Linked DNA regions of Homo sapiens: region 1 is linked to region 2. Evidence: promoter capture Hi-C in 16 types of primary human blood cells and fetal thymus (Javierre and others, 2016). All regions are on one chromosome and are shown on one strand. The core of a region is centred on a gene start or on the middle of the fragment in contact, and the rest is flanking DNA. Distances in the headings are between cores, read along the strand shown.

Evidence for each region. Contacts are between HindIII fragments. The CHiCAGO score rates a contact against its expected background, and 5 or more counts as called.
Region 1: a contact is called between the fragment with the promoter of TRPC4AP here and the fragment with the promoter of NCOA6 in region 2, in 1 of 17 cell types (fetal thymus). The highest score is 5.5, in fetal thymus.

The regions. Positions count from the first base shown.
Region 1 is chr20:35,091,271-35,095,222 of GRCh38, reverse strand. It overlaps TRPC4AP (transient receptor potential cation channel subfamily C member 4 associated protein), which reads left to right and starts at 2,416. Exons shown (of 19, transcript NM_015638.3): 1 at 2,416-2,609. The coding sequence starts at 2,442. RefSeq lists a silencer at 2,515-2,644. The HindIII fragment of the contact is 3,956 bases long and covers 369-3,952 here.
Region 2 is chr20:34,822,817-34,827,268 of GRCh38, reverse strand. It overlaps NCOA6 (nuclear receptor coactivator 6), which reads left to right and starts at 1,618. Exons shown (of 15, transcript NM_014071.5): 1 at 1,618-1,797. RefSeq lists silencers at 1,512-1,701, 1,712-2,151. The HindIII fragment of the contact is 10,135 bases long and covers 1,214-4,452 here.

The DNA.
Region 1 (3,952 bases), core at 1,167-3,666, 270 kb before region 2:
GCGATTCTCCTGCCTCAGCTTCCCGAGTAGCTGGGATTACAGGCACGTGCCACCATGCCTGGCTAATTTTTGTATCTTTAGTAGAGACGGGGTTTTGCCGTTTTGGTCAGGCTGGTCTCGAACTCCTGACCTCAGGTGATCCACCTGCCTCGGCCACCCAAAGTGCTGGGATTATAGGTGTGAGCCACCGCGCCCAGCCGGCTTACAGGTTTTTAATGGCAGGAGGGCAGAGGCCACAGGCGAAGTCATAAATCAATACATAGGGGCTGTATATTGGTTCCACCTAAAAAGACAGGACATCTCCAACCAGGGGCCCACAAGTGGATTCAAAGATTTTCTGACTTGTAATTGGTTAAGGAGGTAAAGCTTTGTCTAAAAATTTGGGATCTGCAGAAAAGAATGTTAGCTCTGACTTATGGTCGTGTCCTCCTCCAGGCCCCCTAGGAAGAAATTTATAACAAAAAATAGAAGTCAAAGTTTAGTTCTCAGCTCTCCCTTATCTGAGTTTGCCTATCAGCAGATCCATTTGGTGGGGGTTCGAGTTTCTAAGAAACAACACTCAGGGACAAATTTTAAGATGTTATATTCAGTTTCTATAGGGAACAAAATATCTCCTGACTGTAACTTCTTTGGCTATTTTTTTTTTTTTTTCTGAGATGGAGTCTCATCCTGTCATCAAACTGGAGTGCAGTGGCGTGATCTCGGCTCACTGTGACCTCTGTCTCCAGGGTTCAAGTGATTCTCCTGCCTCAGCCTCCCAAGTAGCTGGGACTACAGGTGCATGCCACCACGCCCAGCTAATTTTTGCATTTTTAGTAGAGATGGGGTTTCACCATGTTGGCCAGGCTGGTCTCGAACTCCTGACCTCATGATCTGACTACCTCGGCCTCCCAAAGTGCTGGGATTACAGGTGTGAGCCACTGGGATTACAGGTGTGAGCCACTGCACCCGGCTGAGTTTATTTTTGTATAATGTGAGAGATGAGGATCCAGTTTCATTCTTCTGCATGTGGCTTGCCAGTTATCACCAGCTGTTGAATAGGGTGTCCTTTCCCCACTTTATGTTTTTGTTTGCTTTATCGAAGATCAGTTGGCTATAAGTATTTGGTTTTATACTGTGTTCTCTATTCTGTTCCATTGGTCTATGTGCCTATTTTTATACCAGTACCATGCTGTTTGGGTGACTATGGCCTTATTGTATAGATTGAAGTCAGGTAATGTGATGCCTCCAGATTTATTCTTTTTGCTTAGTCTTGCTTTGGACATGCAGGCTCTTTTTTGGTTCCATATGATTTTTAGGATTCTTTTTTCTAGTTCTATGAAGATGGATGGTGAGTCTACTCCTTTTAGATGGGGTGTGAGGATGGTAACCATAGTGCCAGTTCACCTGGGAGAGTCACTTTTATGCCTACCGTCCCGGTGTAATTATTTATTGTGTCTTTTCATTCTTTAAAGTGTTCTGGTTTGAGCAGTAAGTTACAGTCATCTTAGTTATGAGTCACAATCTTCACCATTCCCTGTTACATCACACTTAGCTCTCCTCTTTCATTTTTATTACAGGCCCCCTGCTAGGAAGGGAAAAAGTGTGTGTGTGTTGGGTGGGGGGAGTCAGTGCCATCCTGCCACAGAAGTTAGCTGAAAAAATGAGTATTAGAGACAACATGCTATCTGGTGGATAGAAATTAGGACAGGGTTTTCATCTGACAGAGAATATGATGTCACAATTTACTAATCCCTTTCCCTTCCATTATTTAATTTCACAACAACCTACCCAGTTACACAACTTATCCAGTTTGAGACTGCGTTTCTTTGTGTATGGATCTGCTGTCTTCCCCTGTAACCTGCATTTCGTGATAAAGGATCCCAGGCCGTTCTGCTCACCACTGTATCCCAGACACCCTCCCTTTCCCCTAGACATGGTTTGGTGTCGGGCGCAGAGAAAGCCCCAGGAACTACGATTGATCAGGCTCCCAGAATCTATAGATGGAGTGACCTGACGAGGACACAGGCGCAGTGGCAGAGCGCGATGACTTGGTCGATGTCCGCGGTGAGTCACGTGTAGAGAGAAGCAGGCAGGAAGCGGACTCGAGGGCCTGACTCCTGACCTGAAGCCCAGGATCATTTCTTGGCCAGCTGCCTGCATCCTGCCCAAATCGGCGAGAGAAATGGGAGAATGTGGACCTTGGGAGATTTCGCCGAAATGCTGGGCCCGGGGGCCAGAGAAACCGGCAGTGCAGGAAAGGCCACATCTCTTTTCCCACCTACCCCGCTGCCGCGCAGGACTACAATTCCCAGTAGCCTCCACGCCGCACACGGTCCCTGCCACGCGGCTTGCGCCTCCGCCGACGGCCCACTGGGGGCGCTGCGGCGACCCCTCCGCCGCCCCGTAGAAATCTCCGCGGCCCCGAGGCCGCTTGCTTCCTGTTTGTCCGACGAGGAGACATGGCGGCGGCGCCGGTAGCGGCTGGGTCTGGAGCCGGCCGAGGGAGACGGTCGGCAGCCACAGTGGCGGCTTGGGGCGGATGGGGCGGCCGGCCGCGGCCTGGTAACATTCTGCTGCAGCTGCGGCAGGGCCAGCTGACCGGCCGGGGCCTGGTCCGGGCGGTGCAGGTACGAGGCTGGACCAGGAGGGGCGGGGCGGGGCGGACCAGGCGGGAGCTGGCGGGGGGCCGGGGAAGAGGCCTTTCCAGGCCGCCGCTGGACGGGCCAAAGCCCTTTTGGCTGGCCGGAAGGCCTCCCTGTGAGCTGCCCGGACGCTCTCAGCTGCAGCGGGGCCGTGGGAAGCAGCTGGCTTGATGTCCCTTGTCAGGGGCCGAGCGGGGCTGGGCTGCTGTGGACACTGATGGCGTGTACGAACCCTGGGCCCAGTTTCTGGATCCTCCCTTCTTTGCGCCACGTCTACACGTCTGGGGGACCCTGTCGTGTTTGTTTTAGCCTCTGTGGGCCTCGAGTTTATCCCGTGTATTGGGCGTGGGGGAGGGGGTCATCATTGCAGCCCCCAAATGGTTCCCGAGCATTTCATAAATGTCATTTTCTCAGGCCTTTCCTTGACACTCTTTCCTTCCCCTTTCTAAAGTAGGTCCCCATTGTTATTCTGTCACAGCCGCGAATTCGTTTCGTTTACATTACTTTCTTAGTCTATAATTTCGTATTTCTTTGTTGTCTGCCTTTTTCTCGCCCGTCTCCCACATTAGGCTGAGTTCCAGCGGGTGCAGAGACTATATCTGGTTTGCTAGTGTAGAGCGTCACGGTTAAGAGGGACTCTGGAGTCAGGCCTGGGTTCAAAGCCCTGCTCCTCTCTCTTGCTTGGGCAGGTGACCTTTCTGTGCCTCAGTTTCCTCACTTGTAAGATGAAGATGAGAATTAGTAACCTACCTTTTAAGATTGTTGTGGAGATCAAAGGGGGCAATTGTGTAAAGCATTAGTGCATTTCTGGTGCATACTAAGGGCTGAAGGTAGTTAATATTAAGCATCTGACTTATAACAGGTGCCCAACATATGATTATTGTTATTTTTGAGTGAGCGAAGGACACTGCTTTAGGGTAAACCAGGTTGAATAGGACCTAGTCCACTACTTCTTCCACCCTCCCCCACCCCGAACCTTGCTAACACCTGTAAAACATTAGCTTTATTTAAAGACAGCTTTTTCATAAAAAGTTTGAAGGATACTCAAGAAACTGATAAAGTGGTTGGTGGGAGTGAGGTGGGAATTGGGCTAAAGGGGGAGAAAATGGGAGTGAGACTTTTCACAGTGTAACTTTATTTAAATTTAATTTGAATATCACTTCCTCAAATGACGAAAAGGATAGAATAAAATAAAGGCTAGGGGGTCTGTGTGTATGGAGGACTGTGGACGAAAGGAGCAGTTGTGAGTGAGAAATGTTTTCCTGGCCATCACACAACCATAGATGAGCAGCCTTTTTCCCCCTTGTGTTCTTAAGACCTGACTTAAG
Region 2 (4,452 bases), core at 369-2,868:
AGTGGCGCGAGCTAGGCTCACCGCAACCACCATCTCCCAGGTTCAAGAGATTCTCCCGTCTCAGCCTCCTGAGTAGCTGGGATTACAGGCACCCGCCATCATGCCCACCTAGCTTTTGTATTTTAGTAGAGACAGGGTTTCACCATGTTGGCCAGGCTGGTCTTGAACTCCTGACCTCAGGTGATCCGCCCATCTTGGCCTCCCAAAGTGCTAGGATTACAGGCGTGAGCCACCATGCCGGGCCAGGAGCGAAAAATTAAAACAATTGAACTCATGGAGATAGAGAATAGAAGGAGGGTTACCAGAGGCTGGTAAGATTAATGGGGAGGTAGGTGGGAAGTGGGAATGATTAACGGGTACAAAAGAATAGTTAGAAAGAATAAGACCTAGTATTTGCTAGCACAAGAAGGTGACTACAGTAAAAAACAATTGGCCGGGCGCGGTGGCTCACGCCTATAATCCCAGCACTTTGAGGGGCAGAGGCGGGCGGATCATGAGGTCAGGAGTTCCTGACCAGCCCGGCCAATATGGTGAAACCCCATCTCTACTTAAAAAATATACAAAAATTAGCTGGGCGTGGTGGCATGCGCCTGTAGTACCAGCTACTCAGGAGGCTGAGGCAGGCGAATCCCTTGAACCAGGGAGGCGGAAGTTGCAGTGAGCTGAGATCGCGCCACTGCACTCCAGCCTGGGCGACGGAGTGAGACTCCGTCTCAAAAAAACAAAAATAAAACAAAAAACAAAAAAAAAACCACACACACACAAAATTTACTTGTACATTTTAAAATAACTAGAGTATAATTGGGTTATTTGTAACACAAAGGATAAATGCTTGAGTTGCTAGATACCCCATTTACCATGATGTGATTACACATCGCATGCCTGTATCAAAATCTCATGTACCCCATAAATATATTCACCTACTACGTACTTACGAAAATTTAAAAAATACATCAGTGTAGTGTGGGAAAAAACAGAAAATTTTTAAAAAAGAGTGAAAGCCAGATATGAATCCAGGCCTGTATGACAGACATGAAGTCCAGTGCTGAGGAGGCCTTTCTACGTTTGGGAAGAGGGGAGGGGCCACACTCGTTCGATCAATAATTCTATTTACTGAGCATTTTAGCTTGCTAGGGAGGTAATGATGGGAAAAAGAAGAGAGGGATTTAGAGGCAAATAATAATGAAAGCTTTTATCTATATCCCATTAAGCTTATTATTAGACAGTATGTGTCAGGCACGGTGACAAGTGCTTTCCAAGCCCACCTCCATTTGCTCTTCACAAGCACTATGATTTTCCCCATATTTCAGATGGGTAAACTGAGGCTTGGAGTTGCCATGTCCAAGGATACTCAGAGCGCTCGCAAAAGACTGTGCAATGTGTGCTTCCGAAGTGGGACTCACTGGCGAGAGAATAGCCCTGGAAAGCCGACAGAGACCCACGAGATCCCAGCACTAAGCACTCAGCACCGAAGGGAGCTGGCGCGCGCTCCACCTCGCGCTCCCGGGGACGTCTGGTCACGTGGGCAATGCCCCGCCCCTCGAGTCCGCCCCGCCCCCTCTCGCGCTCCCTCCCTCTCTCCCTCCCTCCCCCTCCCTCCCCGGCCCGGTCCGGCCCATCCCCCTCCCCGCCGGCTCCGTGAGGCCCTGCCGGGTCGGGCTGCGGGCGGCCGGGCGCGGGCGGCGGGACAGACGGGCGCACGCGAGGACTGACGGACGGACGCACCGAGGGCGGCGGGCACGCACGGCCCGGGCCGGCGCTCCAAGGCCCGCCCGGGAGGGCCGGGGCCGCGCTCAGGTGAGGGGACGGCGGCGCGGGCCCGTAAGGGGTGGGCCCGCCGGGCGTCCGCGGTCCTTGTCGGGCTGGCTTCGCGGGGAGGAGGCGCCGCCCGGGCCCGCGCGGAAAAATGGCGCCGGGCGACCGAGTGGCACGGTCTGAGAGCGGGCCCGGCCCGGAGCCGCCCCGCCCGCCGCGCTTGTGTCCCCGTCGCCATGTTGGGGAGCGGGCCCCAGGCCTGCGGGCGGGGGCGCTGGAGGGAGCGGCGGCCGGGCTGGGTGGGGAGGGTGCTGGGCGCGGGGGCCGGTGCACTGAGGGAGTGCAGGGCTGGCCGGGGTCTGCACGGGGTGGCGCTCCAGGCCTGGGGAACAGGCGGGAGCCGGTCGTGGGGTCGTGGTCAGGGTCGCGGAGAAGGAACACTGGGTCCGAAGGGAACCGGGATTGGGGTCTATGGGCTGAGAGGATGGCAGGACGTGGAACTGGGTTAGGCCTTAGGCGGTGTTAGAGCCCTAATGCAGGTAGGACCTGGGGATTGGGGTGGAGGCATGGGGGCCAAGCTCAGGCTGTCAGGGCTGGAGCAGTTCTTTGCTGGGAGGGAAGGAGGTGATTGATGAGGAATGAGGGCCCTTTGGGTACAGACGCTGGTTCAGATTGGGGCAGTCCTTGGGGTACTGGGGCTGAATTGCAAAGCTGTATAACTCCCAAGGCTCTGAAGACTTATGTCCCAAGCATCCTCCACCCCCTCTTGGGGGAAGCAACAGGAAAAAGGAGGTGTTTGATGAGAGAAAAGGGGGACAAAGGGAGACTGAGGTTTGGGTGCAGGAGCTGGCCAGCAAAAGAGGCACAGAGAGTGGAACTGGTTGGCAAGGAAGGAGAGAACCTTTATCAACTTAGGGAGTTGTGTGTGTCTTTAAAAGGAGGGACCTGGCTGTTTGGGGGCGGTGACCCAAGGTGTCTTCCCTGGAAGGGGACAGCCCACAGCTTAAGAGCAGAGTCACCTGGAGAGGTCATCAGAAAGGCGTTATTGAAGCCAGTAAAATGGTGAAGAAGAGTGAATGTATAAAAACTACAAAGGCCTGAGAGATCAAGTAAAGATTTCAAATCAGGTAGTGATTTTAGCTGAAACATAGAAAGGTAAAGTTGACTTTTCAAGATCTTACAAGTTAGTGGCAGAGGGGTACTAGAAATTGTCGGCTGCTTCCTCACTAAACACATTGCCTTAAAGGAATTTGCTAGCTGGGAGAAAGGTGTTAAGAAATGAAGCATAACATTCTTGTGATGAAACTAAAAGCAAACAAACAAAAACAACAAGAAATGAAGCATAACAGTATATACCAGATAACTATTAAATTTGTTTTCTTCCTGTAATGAGTGTGGCAATACAAAGGCTGAAGGGAATACAAAAAAGTATAGGCAGCCAGTTATTTGGTATTTCCTGGTTCATCTCTAATTGTGCAAAGAAGTTATCTTTGAGACCTTCTAACTTTCTAGAGTTTTAAGAGGTGCTCCGGCCAGCCACAGTGGCTCACGCCTGTAATCCCAACACTTTGGGAGGCCAAGGTGGGAGGATTTCTTGAGCCCAGGAGCTGGCAGACCCCATCTCTACAAAAGAAATAAAAAAAATTAGCCACCTGATGTGGCTTGTACTTGTAGTCCCAGCTACTCAGGAGGCTGAGGTGGGAGGATCGCTTGAGCCTGGGAGGTCAAGGCTGCAATGAGCCATGCTATGGTCATTCCATGACATTCCTGCCTGGGCGACAGAGCAAGACACTGTCTAAAGAAAAAAAAAAAAGAGAGATGCTCCTTCTCTTCTAGGTGTTTACCACAAAGGAACACAAAATCCTAAAAAAGAAAAGTGAAAAATTGTAGACACCCAGAGTCTCTATTTTATTAATTGAAGTTGGATCATGTTAGAGAAGAATTCAAAGTTCGCATGGGCTATGGGAGAGTTCTGAAGGAAATATGCAAATTAGTCATGGAAAATAGGTCCAGGGCCCCATATAATCAAAGAGAATTAGCGAACAAAAATATTATGCGGGCATATATAAAATAAAACTGTCAATACCATATGTATATACAGCAACACAATTCATTTGTTCTGGGTTTTTCTTTTCTTTTCTTTTCTTTTTTTTCTGTTTGTAGAGTTGGGGTTTCAACATGTTGCCCAGGCTGGTCTTGAAATCCTGAGCTCAAGTGATCTGCCCACCTGAGCCTCCCAAAGTGCTGGGATTACAGGCGTGAGCCACCGCGCCCAGCCTATTCTGGGTTTTTCTAATGCAGGAAGACCTGACCTTATCTGTGCCATGGACCCCTTTCAGAATAATATTTTTTAATTGTATAAAATAAAGTACATTGAATTATAAGGAACACCAATTATATTAAAATACAGTTTCCAAAATATACAAATCTAATATGCATATACTTGTTTATCAGCACGTTAAGAAATCAGATTTAGTGATGGATCCGATAATTATAATTTCAAAGACATGATGCGCATAAAGGCTACTTCAAGATTATATGCAACAATTGTAGTATGATATAAAGATATTTGAGATTTCTGTTGTTACAGAGTCACAGAACTGCTAATACTAGAATGGTATGTTACCTACACTCATATTTGAATAGAATGGTAATTTTCAGTTAAAAGTTAGTAAAAGAGATTTTTTTCTCCCTGTC